Linked DNA regions of Homo sapiens: regions 2 and 3 are each linked to region 1. The links are contacts of gene promoters, found by promoter capture Hi-C in human tissues and cell types (Jung and others, 2019). All regions are on one chromosome and are shown on one strand. The core of a region is centred on a gene start or on the middle of the fragment in contact, and the rest is flanking DNA. Distances in the headings are between cores, read along the strand shown.

Region 1 (4,527 bases), core at 859-3,358:
GCGGGAGCTCTCCAAGGTGGGAGCATTCCTTGGCCCCACTGGCCTAACCTCATCCTGCAAGTTCCAAGAGGAAGAGGTGTGAAGTTTCCCTGGCTCTTGTCAACAGAGCCAAGTCTTATTTCCCTCATTAGCCCATAGTTCCTATTATCAGCTGCAATTGATGGTGTTGATCAAAGCAAAGCCTTGTCCAGTGGATGGATGCCAATGGCTTACTTACCTGTTCCATAATGCCTCCAGGTTAACACAGCAGCACAGCTGGGCCCTGAGCAGTAGGAAAAAAAGCCAAAGAGAGAGGGCACATGAGGTTCTAAACTCTGAGAGCCTGTGACATAAAATATAGCCATAGGAGATAGAAAATCTTGCCTCTTTCATACAAACAATCTAGCTCAGCCCTCCCCTCTCTGATGGCCACATCTCTGGTCCACAGCTCCTGAAGTTTATTGTTGGCTCAGAATGGTAGAAAGCAGAGGGCAGCCAATTCACATGACATTCTCCACCCCACCATCCATGACCTTATCATTCTTTCCAGGCACCAAGAGGGTCATCAGAAAAGCGAAAAGTCAGGAAAACAGAAACCTAAGACTCCATACACTGACATCCCCACTCTGTCTAACTCATCCTCCTTACTGTCCCCAAAGCAAGCATAGTAATTCCTTAGACACAGTCGACATAGTGTAATGGACAGTGTCTGGCTTGAGAATCAAGAAATCCAATTCTTAGGTCTGCCATAAATGCACTATGTGACCTAGGCAAATCACTGCGCCTCCCTGTGCATCTGGAAAAGAGGGGATTAAATCAGATGGTCTCTAAACCCTTGCTAGTTTGACGACTCTGAGAATGCTGTGTCCCTTAACATTAAAAGTGGGCCGAGCACAGCTACGAAGCAACAATTCCAACTAAACCCCTAGTGTCAAGCACAACGATACAATTCTCTTTTCCACTGCTTCATCCACCATCAGGCAGCAATAACCAACCGCCCATCTCTGACGGCAATACCAAGGGGAGGAGCGGGCGCCCTGAAAAGGAGCATGAATCCCCGCCCAGAATGCGAGGCGGGCCCTCAGACTACAAATCCCGGCATGCAGCACTGACGCTCTCAAAAGTATCCCTTCCTGGCCGGCAAATGACTCTTCCCCGGGTCTATCCTACCATAGAGTGCATCGCACGCACATGGAACTACAGTTCCCACAATCCATCAGACCTATCGCGATTCTTGCTCCCAGGATGCAATGCGCCCCCGTTCGCCCTTTAGACCCTTTGGCGTTGCAAACTGGGAGTTGGAGTCCGGGGTACGCAGGTAGCTGGGCGTTGTCAGGATTACAAACTCTCCACTTTAGGCTTCCTCTTGAAGAGCAGATCTCAGGGACAGTGGTGAAGAGAGGGTGGTAACGGGCAGGCGGAACTCTCCAGTGCCACCACCACGCAAGGCAGGGATGCTGAGGATACAATTAACTGATAAAATTATCTGTCAGGAGCGGGAGAGAATTAGGAACCACAGTCATCCCACACGCCTCCAAAAGCGTCATTTTCTGTCTCAAATGGCTTTTCTCTTTACCAATATGGTGGCCTGGTCCAGCCACACCCGATGGTAGAACCAAACGGTCAAGTACAACATCCCTAGGAATACTGCTGTCACCGACAGGCGACCAGCTCCATCCAACACCACACCTTGCTCCTTTCTGTTCATGCCTGAGGACTCCAAGGGCATGATAGCCCATATCCCATTACCAAAATGGCGAAAGGAGCAGCTTTCTTGTGAGGGCCTGCGGAAGGCAATACGCCTGCGCGGGAGGCGTCTGTGTTATGGAGAGGAAGGGGGAGCACCCCCAACACGCCTGCGCAGAACAGAGTCGTCTTAGTTTGCACACAAACACCAATGGATGAACAGTCCCTAGCTTCCTGCGGCTGCGCCTTGACCCCTACAAGCTTTCTCAAGCGCCTGCGCGAGACCTCAGGTCCCGCCCTTTTGTCTCAGTGCGCTGGCGCAGGGCAGAAAGGTGGGGCTTCGGTCCTCCAGACGAATGCCAGCGCGGCTGCGCGCTGGGGGGTACTCCCTCACCGCGGCTGCGCGGGAGCCAGGCCGCCGGCTGTCACTGCGGTTGCGCGCGGCGAGCGCCGATCCCGGGGCGCCTGCGCGGGTGGCTTTGCGGGCGCTCGCGGTAAGTTTGCGCCAAGTGCGCGGCAGCCGGGACGCAGACGGCGGCGGCGGCGAGAGGCGGAGCCCGGGGACCACCCCCCATCACCCTCCCCCCAGTCACCTCACGTACCACAACCTCACGTAACCTCTCACCCCCCCTCCGATACCCCCAGCCCCGGGATGGCAGCGCCCGCCAGCCTTCCCGGCCGGACCGGCTGTCGCCAGTGCCGGCTTTAGCCTGTGGGACTAGGCCCCGCCGAGGCCTGACCCCCGGAGCCGGGACCCACTGTGCAGCCAGCAGCCGGGCCGGGACTGAGGGGCCGCTCCCCCCTCGCGGCCCGTCGGGAGGACGCTGTCGTCCCGGGGACTGGGGGCCGGGGGGTGGGGGGGAGCCAGGGCGAGGAAGTCGGGACCCGTATTGGGAAAAAAGCGGGGCCGGGGTCAGGAGCGCCCCCTCCCCTCACCTCCCCCCTCCCCCCGGGGTTGGGGGGGCCGGAGCAGAGAGCACCCAGCCCGGGAGGTGGATGAATGTGGGAGAAAATGGAGACCAAGACGATCGTGTACGACTTGGACACATCAGGGGGGCTGATGGAGGTAAGAGTGGCCCTCCTCATCTCCTTCCTCCAGCGCCGGGAGGGAACCTCCGCCCTCCGCCCCACAAAGCCAGTCCTAAACTCGAAGCGCCTAGATGGCCGAGGGAGGGGGATTCTTCCTCACCTAGCCTCTCCCTCCCCTCTTTGCAATTTAGGGGGCTGAGCTCAGCCTCCGAGGACGTTTGCAGCAGTTTCACCTACCCGCCGCCCTCGATTCGCTCTCCCGAGGCGCCAGCCCACTCCATCTCGTTGCACCGGCAGGCCTCCCCACCCCCTTCTTGTTGGCCCCTTTGTGCTTCCCCCAGCACGTCCGGGTACCGGGCTTTGGGCCTCTCCCGAGCGGGTCTTTGGAGTCCCCCACTGTCCATACAAGGAAGTGGCAAGAAGGGAACCGCGCACCCTCTTCCCATCCCCCTACCCTTGATCCTCCCCATTTGGAAGAAGCTGTTCTCGTTGTTGTGCTGCAGGAACGCGGTTAGGGTGGGCTCCCCCTGGTTCCGGGGGCTGAGAGATTCTGGGAGCAGCCTGGATGGGAGGAAGAAGGACAAAAGGGGGGAGAGGGGTGGGTGACGGAGAAACCGCGCCGGGGGGGCGACGGACCGCCCGGGAGCTCCGAGTGTGCACACACGCCGTTTGTATGTGTGTGCAGCAAATCCAAGCTCTGCTGGCTCCCCCCAAGACGGACGAGGCAGAAAAGCGCAGTCGGAAGCCTGAGAAGGAGCCCCGGAGAAGCGGCAGGGCCACCAACCACGACAGCTGCGATAGCTGCAAGGAAGGTGGAGATCTCCTGTGCTGCGACCACTGCCCGGCTGCCTTCCACCTCCAGTGCTGGTAAGGTCTGGGGACCCTTTTGGAGCTTCTTGGCGGACCCTTCTCTGCGCATTCCTTCACCCGGCCTGCCCCTGACTGCCGAAATAACGGGCGCTTGCAGCCGCTAGCTGACTTTCTGCAGCTGCCGGGGCGAGCACCTCCCCGCCCCCAGGTGTCCGCCGGGTTCTGGCAGTTTAGCGGGGAGGAGCAGCGGTGGGTCCGGACCCCGAGGTGGGGGTTGGGACGAGTGAAGAGAACCCCATATGGGATTGGAAGTCGCTGGGGAGCCGGGACAGAGCCGGCCGGGGACAGCCGGCAGTGGCGGGGGAGGAAGGGGAGGAGCTCCGGGCCCAGTGCCGCTTGCCTGCCCGCGCGCCCGCTGCCCTCGGGGCTCCTGCCCGGCCGGGATCTCCTCGGGGTGGGTGCGTGGAGCCCTCGGCCACCTGAGTTGCCCTGGTCCAGACCCCGGCAACCGGGCGCTTGTGGCTGTAGAAAAAATCGTGGAGGGTGTCTCTCGAGTCCGCCTCTTCTTTGCCTCTCTGTTTACAATATGGCGACCTGCCTTTAAATTATATTTTTATTCTCAGCGCCATTTTGGCTGCATATATGATTTGCAAACGTCTCTCGGGGGAACGGTGGGGACAGCCCCAGAGTCCTTTCTGCAGAAGCTCCTCGGGGGCCCCGTCTGGGATCTCGCCGCTTTGATCCCCTTTCTCTGCCTCCGCTTGCCCCCTGTTGCCTCTCAGAGCTGCCTTCCTTCCTCCTCCCTCTTCCCTCCTCCCTCCCGGCGCCGCTGCCTCTTAGGAAATCGGGCCGGGTTAGACAATTAAAATTGCCCTTGGGCGCCGATTTCATTTCTCCGCTCCGGATCGGCGAGCCCTTCGCTGCAAAATTCTTTGCTGCCAGAGGGAGGATTGTGTGCGGTGGCACTAGAAAGGCATTTTTAAGGAGCTGAGAGCTGGAAAGCCGTACGCTTTTTCCCCCTTA
Region 2 (4,527 bases), core at 1,243-3,742, 180 kb before region 1:
CTTGAGTTTTGTAATCCTTCCTCCTCCACTCCATCCCTCCTTTCCCCTTGTTGCCCACAGTGTTTATCCTGGCAGGTTCTGGCCTTTGGGAAGACTCAGAGACACTGAGAGACCCTGCCCCCCATTTCTTCTCTGACCCAGGGCACAGGTTACCTTCAGCGCCATGGCCTTTTCATCAAGGTTCGCCTTCTGGGAGCAAAAGGAAAGTTGGATTTTAAAATCTTTATGTTTTTCCTGTGTGCTTGGCATGTTGTATCTGCAGGCAGGAGACTGGCTTGTGGGAGAGGGAGCTTTGGAAGCTAGAGATGGATTGGGGCATGTGTGTATAATTGGGGGTGGCAGGGAGAATGACGGGGGCTGGTGAACTCCCTATTCTGGCTGGATGGGCTCCTGCACTGAGTCATGCTTCTCCCCTAAGCCCCACCTCTGGTAAGGTGAGCTGCCTTTTGTCCTGCTGGTGTCCCTCTGGGTTAACCCCTCCACACCCTTCCCACCACCCTGCTGCCTTGACTCACCCCTGGAACGTGGGCTGCTGTGGAGGGACCGCTGGAACTGGGTCTCCCTGATCCTGGGGGCTGCAGTGGGTTAGGAGGACAAGGGGCCAAGGGTGGGGAGTCAGGCCAGTTGGCCACCTGGGTCCAGAGGGTGATTCAGGCCACAGACTTGGGACTGCCTGTGTGTGTGCCTTTATGCGTGTGCATAGTCCCCAGCTGGGCAGTGACCTACAACAGCCAGAGCCCTTCTGATGGGGGAGGGAGGAGTGAGTCAGCCTGATGCTAAATCCAGAGCTGAGCTCAGAGCTGGGCCCAGTGTTTCAGACACTTGGGGGGCACCCAGTGTTTTCCCCAATGCCACACCTTGGGCCAGACATTTGGGGTCCCAAACTTGAGCCACTGGAGGGAGGACAGATTTGGAGCTGGTGAAGAACACAGAGTGGACTTGGAATCTGGGCCACCCCGGCACCCAAGTTAACAGCACTGCGTGCAGTAATGAGTGTGTCTGTGTGGTTTGCGAACACTTGTCCTCCCACTAACCTGTGTGCCCCAGAACTACTGCATGGTGTGATCCCTGGGGCAGCAAGGGGGAGAGTGATGGCTTGGTGGGGGGCAGCAGGCACAGACCTAGACCCTGCCACTCTTCCTCCCTCTGTCCACCAGTCCCTCCCTTCCCTTTCTCTGCTCCGATTCCAATTCTTAAAGAAGTAGGCTCCACTCTGGTGAATATTTGCCATTTCCCCTCGTCCTTGGCATTGTGAGCTAACTATGAAGATTGAGCCCGTTGCAGATAGCTCTGTGGACAAGATGCAGCTTTAAAACTGCAGCAGCCATCACGCCAGCCAGTGCCCCTGGCACTGCTAATTTGAGCTCAAAATTAGCCACAGACCCTGGTTAAAATTGGAGAGTCCCCCCAAGTGGATCATGTAAATGATTCTGGATGTTTCTAAAGATTTTTTCCCTTAGGAATCAAGGACTTCTTGCCATGCTCCTACCCACATTGTGCTGGGAAGGAGAGGCACGCTGAGGAGGAGGTAGGGTTGGTAACAGGGCTGTCTTTTTCCTGTAGTCCTAGGTGACGCGGGAAAGAGGAGAAATTAAATCCATAGGACTGCCTGAGCTTTTGGAGGGAGAGATACTGGTGAGGGGAAAGGAGAAGACTTTTTAAAACTTGAGGCCTGGCCTCTCTGAATCTGTTGTGAGCCAGTTTCTGAACTGAAAGAACCTTCAGAGCTTCCACATCATCTGCCCTTTTTCCAGATGTGTGATGGTATCTGCTGTTTCCACGACTCCACTCCTCCCCTCTGACTCAGGCCAGCCAGCTCCTGGGCTCCAGCACAAACCCCTGGCCCCAGTGTCCAGAGCTTAGGCATCTTTCCTTCCTCCATACCCCGCCCCTAACTTCAGGGTTCCCTCCCTCGGCTGCGTGGTTGGCAGTTTTGTGGGTCTGAGGTTGAGAAAATATCTGGCCTCCTGAATCTCCGCCTCTGCCCCACTCCCTGCCTCCAGCAAGATCTCAGCTGAGCTGGGGGAGTTGTGCAGGATCAAGAAGTAAGCCAGAGCCAGCCCAGTAGGGGCCAACCTTCACTCTACTCTAAAAGCTGCTGGCCCACAGGTACCCACACTGGGTTACTTTTACCTCCTCAGTCACTAGATCTGGGGCTTTTTGTTCAAACCACTTCTTGCCTGAGCTAGGGATGACTCTTGTAGTTTGGATGAGTTAAATTAGCTGGATCTTCCCATCTGCCACGTAACCAAAGCCACGATGGCACTGTGGGTGGACCTCTTTAGACAGCCCCCAAAGTGGGCAAAGTGGCTGGTTGCTGAGGGCAAGGGTACTTGGCTTTTTCCCCCACAGACTCTTCATTCTTGAAGTCATCACTGAACAGTTCTGATTCTAGGATAGGATAGCTCTTGCCCAGGTCCCCTAGCCCCGGTATTCCTAAAGACTCAGGAGCTCCACCTCAGGGTGAGGGAGGCCCCTTGAATGTTCTCTCCCTGTGCTTTTAGTGCTGGGTCTCCCAGCCTTGACCTGCCAGTGACTTCTTCATCTGCTCCCTCAGGTTAAAGAGGAGGACAAAACTCTGCCAAAGCCTGGCTCTCCTGGCAAGGAGGAAGGGGCTGTAAGTGCATCCTTGAGTTCTCCGAGGCATGCGTGTGTGTGTGCGGGCATGTGTGTGTGCATGCGTGCATGTGTGTGTGCGTGTGTGTGTTTGCCCCTGCACCCACTAGCCCTGGACTAGCCTGTGAGACAGCTCCATGGAGTAGGTGGGGATTGCAGGGGGCCCCTTCCTGTGTGGCTCAGCTGAAGAGAATTCTAGTAAAGGGGAAGAAAGTACGGTGTATGTGATGCCAGCTTCAGGTGTGTGAAGGAGATGGCCAAGGTGCTTTGGGGACCTCCCCTAACCTCCTCCCCAATCCCCTTAAGTTGCCTCCCTTTGGTTCTGGTTTCCTGAACCCTTTGGGCCTGGAGAGGCTTGGGTGGGCAAACTCTTAGGTCAGGGAGCGTCGAATGAGAGCTCAGCTGTTGGGATTCTTCAGCCTGCTCTGGGTGGCACAAGGCAAAGGCATGGAGGGACTTCACTGTAGTCGCTGCTGTCTCTTCCAAGACCCTGTCAGCTGCTTGGTGCAGGTGACCTGGAGGCAGGCTCCAGCTACTCACTGCCTCCAGCCCCAGCGCATTGGGATAGAGACCCTGAATAAACCTGGACTCTCCTAAGGCAAGAATAGCCTTAGGTTTCTGAATAGCCAAGTCCAAAGATGTGTAGTTAGGAGAGGGCAGCTGGTAGCACAGGGGGCAGGAGTGCCCAGGGCTCTGGGGCAGAGCTGGATCACAACACATATTCTTACTTCATTACCCCAGATGGTGCCTGTCCTGGCTCCCTGCACTTCCTTGGTCAGTTTGATTAGCCAGGCACTGTGGCTTCCACCTGATCTGCAAACAATCCTGGAAAGCCAGCCTGTGATTTGAAAGGGTTGTGTGTGTGTGTGTGTGTGTGTGTGTGTGTGTGTGTGTGTGTGTGTGTGTGTGGGAGAGGCCTCAGAGTTGCCCAGAATTTATTTTATTTTATTTTTTTTGCAAAAACTACATGTAAAGTGCTTGGAAGAGTGCCATGGCCCATAGTGAGTACTGTGTAAGTCTTACCAATTACTATCATCATCATTGTCATCATTTTCTTTTCTTTTTTTTTTTTTTTTTTTTTTTTGAGACAGGGTTTTACTCTGTCACCCAGGCTGGAATGCAGTGGTGCCATCTCAGCTCATTGCAACCTCTGCCTCCCAGGCTCAAGCCATCCTCCCACCTCAGCCTCCTGAGTAGCGTAGCTGGGACTATAGGCACACACCATCAAGCCTGGCTACTTTTTGTATTTTTTGTAGAAACAGTTTCACCATGTTGCCCAGGCTGGTGTTGAACTCCTGAGTTCAAGCAGTCTCCCTGCCTTGGCCTCGCAAAGTGCTAGGATTACAGGCGTGAGCCACCACACCTGGCCCATCGTCATCATCTTAATGATGGAAGGGGGATGGGAGGAAAGCCAGAAGAGGGAGGGGAGGAGTGTAGGATCCAGTGGCTAGGGCCACTGGCCAACTCTGCAGTGCCCTGGCATGCCATTGAGCACTCTTGGCCTAAGAGGTTGAGGAAGAGGCACCTTCAAGCCCTTACTCTCTCTATCCCTTCAGCGGAGCCAACCTGTAACCAGGGCCTAGATTAAGGCCCTTGGCTCAGCTCTGCTCAAAAGGTGGAGCAACTTCTCCTTGTGGCATCCAGAGGCAGCAGCTCCCAGGTGCGCCTACTGTGAGCGTCTTCCTGCATCCAAGCAAGCATGGGCAGGTGGGCCTTCACGGAGCCCAGTGCCCATATGTGTTCTAGAACCAAGATCATTGTTTTGGGTAACAAGGACTCAAGCACAGCTCAGCTGGTGACAGAGCTCTGCTTGGCCAACAAGGAGAACCCAGGTTGCCCTTACGCTCCCCAGGCAATGGAGCTGGCTTTATGGGAAACTCTATCCTGCCGTTAGCCAGCCTGGCCTTCCAG
Region 3 (4,527 bases), core at 1,257-3,756, 140 kb after region 1:
AAGCTGAGGCAGGAGAATCGCTTGAGCCCGGGAGGCAGAGGTTGCAGTGAGCCAAGATTGTGCTGTTGCACTCCAGCCTGGATGACAGATCGAGACTCTTATCTCAAAAAAAAAAAAAAAAAAAAGATCGGCCTGGCACGTTGGCTCATGCCTGTAATCCCAGCACTTTGGGAGGCCGAGGCAGGCAGATCACTTGAGGTCAGGAGTTCGAGACTAGCCTGGCCACCATGGCGAAACCCCGTCTCGAGTAAAAATACAAAAGTTAGCCAGGCGTGGTGGTGTGCACCTGTAATTTCAGCTACTTGGGAGGCTGAGGCAGAACTGCTTGAACCTAGGAGGCGGAGGTTGCAGTGAGTCAAGATTACACCACAGCATCTCACCACTGCACTCCAGCTTGGGAAACAGAGCGAAACTCCGTCTCAAAAATAAATAAAATAAAAACAGGCATGTCATACAGCTCCTTTTCCATCTTCCAGGAGTACTGAGGTTGTTATATATGAAATGTTTTGAGTTCCAAGGTAGCCTAGACTGCTTAATTTTAAAGTTTTGTTTTGTTTTAAATTATAGTAGTGTTCGGGGGGATTAAGCAGTGTTGTAGAGTGTGATGTAGATATTTAATGTTATGCACTTGCAAGAACGCTGAATAAAAATGACATTCTAGGTAATAGCTTGCCTTTCCTGACCCCCGTTTTCTTTTTCTTTTCTTTTTTTTTTTTTGGAGTTAGAGTCTTACTCTCACTCAGGCTGGAGTGCAGTGGCACGGTCTCTGCTCACTGTACTCTGCCAAGTAGCTGGGACTACCGTGCGAGTTACCACGCCTAGCTACCTCTAAAATTTGTGGTAGAGGTGGGGTTCTCACCAGGTCACCATGTTGACCAGGCTGGTCTCGAACACCTGGGTTCAAGTGATCTGCCCACGTTGGCCTCCCAAAGTGCTGGGATTACAGGTGAGACACACCGCGCCCGGCCAGTTTTCTTAAATGAGCCCCATGTAGTGCTCTATCACTACACCCCAGAAAATATACCACAGTGTTTAAAATGTCCTATTCCATGCCGGGCGCGGTGGCTGACGCCTGTAATACCAGCACTTTGGAAGGCCGAGGCGGGCGGATCACGACGTCAGGAGATCGAGACCGTCCTGGCTAACACAGTGAAACCCCGTCTCTACTAAAAAATACAAAAAAAAAAAAAAAATTAGCTGGGCGTGATGGCGGCCACCTGTAGTCCCAGCTACTCCAGCTACTTGGGAGGCTCAGGCAGGAGAATGGCATGAACCTGGGAGGCGGAGCTTGCAGTGAGCCAAGATCTCGCCACTGCACTCCAGCCTGGGCAACAGAGCGAGACTCCGTCTCCAAAAAAAACAAAAAAAAAAGAAACAACTGTCAAAATCAGGAAAGTAACATTGACACATTACTTCCATATAATTATCAGATCCTCTTCAACTGTTGCTTATTATTATACCAGTTATATACTTTATAGCAAAAAGGATCCAGGTCAGAATCACACATTGCATTTATTTTTCATGTTGTCTTAGTCTCCTCCAGTCTGGTTGCTGAGAGTATGTTCCCCATAATATTAGGTATATGACTGAACAAGGATTAGGTGTTTGCTTCCTAATTGTACTGAAACCTGCTAAAGGAATTGTTATCTTGGGATTTAACTGGATTGGATACATCCAGCTAAATACATTGGATGTTTTGTATCTGAAACAGGTTGGAGCCAACTATGTGTGTTTTTTTTTTTTGTATGTGTGTGTTTTTTTTTTTTTTGTGTCTGATGATTTCATGTATTCCCTTCTCCACCCCACCAACTTCTAGATACATACTTTCCCAACATGCCTCCAACGCCCCCCCCTCCCCCCCCCCCCCCCCCCCGCTTAATTTCTGCGTCACGGGAAGCACGAGTTTCCGACAGGGAGGATTGATGTGTGCAGTTGATTTAATATGCAATCCTAAATCCGTCCACTGTTACAGTGCAGTGCAGTTGATTAGACTAGAGGCAGAGAGGCTTGGGGAGCATCTTTTTACTGTCGAGTGTCTCCAGGTGGCAATTGCTGTTGAAGTCTGAGGCACTCTGGGAGGTATCGCGTGGGTGGGGGGGGGTCTCCTAGTACCCAGGCAGAAAGTGGGAGGGGACAAGGGGACAGAGGGAGAAGGGGTGCAAAGGGGCGCAGCTTCACCTGGCCCAGCTACGGGATGCTTGGCTCCTGGCTTTGGGGTAGGGGCCGGGAGAGATGGGGGCAGCGCTAACAAAGAGGAGCCGAGTCGGGCCGGGTCCGCGGGTAGCGGGCCTATCCCGGTGGCTGACCTCCCTGTGGGCCTCCCCAGTTGGCTGTTTGGCGAGTCGCTCTGCTGGCTCCCTGGCTCGCCATTGGCTGTGCAGACAGGAGAGGGCTCGCGAAGAGCCAGGGTGGAGGTGAGGGGGCGGGGCTGGCTTCCGGCGGCGGCTGGGAGCAAGCGGCAGCCGGCTGGGGGAGGGGGTGTCGGCGCACCGCGGAGTCCTGCGCTCCGTGAGCCTGGCACCCGGAGCAGCCGCCTCCCCCTCCCCCTGCCTAGACCGCTAGAAGCCCCCTCTCTTCCATCCTCCCGGGGCGGGGGTGAGCTGGGCTCAGCTGCCCAAGGCGGGCGGGGCGGAGCCAGGAGCCCCACGGAGCGCTGCGGAGCGAACCTCACCTTTCCAGGGCGCAAGGTGTGTGTGTGCTTTTTCTAACGCGACCCCGACTTCAGCCGACTTAACCTTGTAAGAAAAGGGGAAATGGAACGGGAAATAATGTCTCTGGATCGCATCAGTTTATTTTGATTATCTGTTTCTACCCTTCATCATTTTTTTTCCTTCCCTTCATCTCACCCCTGCAGATGGGTAAGGAGATTCAGGACTCTTATCTCTTTTTACTGATGTGTCGATATCGGTCGCATAGTAAAATGCACAGAGAAGAAAAGAGGAGCCCTTTTTTGTGTGGTATCTGATGCAGTAAACCGTAATTTAAAAAAAAGAAAAGGCAAGCTAGGAGTGGATATTTGGAACTGTACTCCATGCGTGTCCATTAAGGTTGTCTTCACCATTTTCCTCCTTGGGACTGCCTTGATCAGCAATAACAATCTGAAAGGAGAGGAGGTGCTAGTGGAAAGAGGGAGCAGCCCCAGTCAAATGGTGGTTAAAGGAAATCCTGATAGTTGTTAGTGATTAACTCTGCTAAAGTCTCTTCCTGGAGTACATTGTCACCGGCTTTGTGTAGTAGCTCATCTCTGTTGGAGAAACCTGACTAGAGCAGGCAAACTTACCTTGCTGTTGCTGAAACTTAAAAGTCTTATCTTTTTCTCTGTTGGTATATTTCTTATATTCACAGACCCTCGGAGGGAGTAGTTTCTATCGTCAAAAACCAAAACCAAACTTAAAAAAACAAACCTCCAGATGTATTTTAGTTCGTGGGGGTTTTTTTGTTTTTGTTTTTGTTTTTTGAGACGAGTCTCGCTCTGTTGCCCAGGCTGGAGTGCAGTGGCGCGATCTCGGCTCACTGCAACCTCTGCCTCCAGGGTTCAAGCGATTCCCCTGTCTTAGCCTCCTGAGTAGCTGGGATTACAGGCGCCTGCCACCACACCTGGCTAATTTTTTGTATTTTTAGTAGTGACCGGGTTTCACCGTGTTAGCCAGGATGGTCTTGATATCCTGACCTCGTGATCCACCCGCCTCGGCCTCCCAAAGTGCTGGGATTACAGGCGTGAGCCACCGCGCCTGGCCTAAATGGGCATTTTCAACGAAACGTGTTTGGAGCAGGTTTATCTTAATGTTGATTAGCAAAGAGCTACAGTACCAAAAGGGATGAATATTTTTTTTTTTGGCAACACTTTGATAAATATTAATTAAAATGGTTCAGAGTTTATGTAATACAGGTTCAGTTTCCCACGATTGTTGTAACTGGGGTCCACTTTTGAAGACAGAATTGATACACTGGAGCTGTCTTACACTTTTGGCTAGATTAGTGATTTTTTTCTTTGCATTGATTTATTAGATCTCTAGACAATTAGGAGCAATTTGGGATGAAAGCAAGTATTATAAAAAATAGGGATAATGGGATAGGAAACCATTTCAGCTGTGGAAAGTAATAGGGATTACGAAGCTTACTTTACCTTTTTTAAAAAGAAGATTTCAAATACCTTAGAATAGACATGTTACTAAAAAGTAGATTCACAGTAATCCTGTGTCAGGTTTTGGGTTTTTATTACTCACTTGTCCCTTAAGGCTCCATGAGTTGTATTTAAATTGGGAGGGAAAGGGGATCCCCCAGATGTTGACTAGTTAACTTGCTACTGAGAGTGAACTGTTAAAAATCACTGATTGAAGCCTTTACAGTTAGCTAGTATATAAAACAGAGTTAGCTAGTATATAAAACAAAGTTAGCTAGTATATAAAACAAAGTTAGCTAGTATATAAAACAAAGTTAGCTAGTATATAAAACAGAGTTAGCTAGTATGTAAAACAAAGTTAGCTAGTATATAAAACAAAGTTAGCTAGTATATAAAACAGAGTT

The links. The method cuts DNA at HindIII sites, captures the fragments that hold promoters and counts their contacts. A contact is called where the count stands out against the background at its distance.
Region 2: a contact is called between a fragment that was not itself captured here and the fragment with the promoter of PHF12 in region 1, in 1 of the 25 tissues and cell types used here (dorsolateral prefrontal cortex).
Region 3: a contact is called between a fragment that was not itself captured here and the fragment with the promoter of PHF12 in region 1, in 1 of the 25 tissues and cell types used here (hippocampus).

The regions. Positions count from the first base shown.
Region 1 is chr17:28,949,099-28,953,625 of GRCh38, reverse strand. It overlaps PHF12 (PHD finger protein 12), which reads left to right and starts at 2,108. Exons shown (of 15, transcript NM_001033561.2): 1 at 2,108-2,731; 2 at 3,380-3,561. The coding sequence starts at 2,666. It overlaps LOC105371716 (a long non-coding RNA gene), which reads right to left and starts at 2,024. Exons shown (of 5, transcript XR_001752822.2): 1 at 218-2,024. RefSeq lists enhancers at 984-1,605, 1,307-1,716, 1,817-1,866, 3,607-4,226, 4,307-4,406 and 1 more and silencers at 2,037-2,306, 3,817-4,076. The HindIII fragment of the contact is 9,214 bases long and covers 1-4,527 here.
Region 2 is chr17:29,129,473-29,133,999 of GRCh38, reverse strand. All of the region lies in intron 2 of MYO18A (myosin XVIIIA), which reads left to right. Among named protein-coding and RNA genes, the nearest start is that of MYO18A, 49 kb to the left of the region's middle. RefSeq lists an enhancer at 615-909. The HindIII fragment of the contact is 7,003 bases long and covers 1-4,527 here.
Region 3 is chr17:28,810,369-28,814,895 of GRCh38, reverse strand. The region is part of intron 1 of FAM222B (family with sequence similarity 222 member B); the gene reads left to right. Among named protein-coding and RNA genes, the nearest start is that of FAM222B, 30 kb to the left of the region's middle. RefSeq lists a silencer at 2,397-2,686 and an enhancer at 2,212-2,854. The HindIII fragment of the contact is 5,142 bases long and covers 1-4,527 here.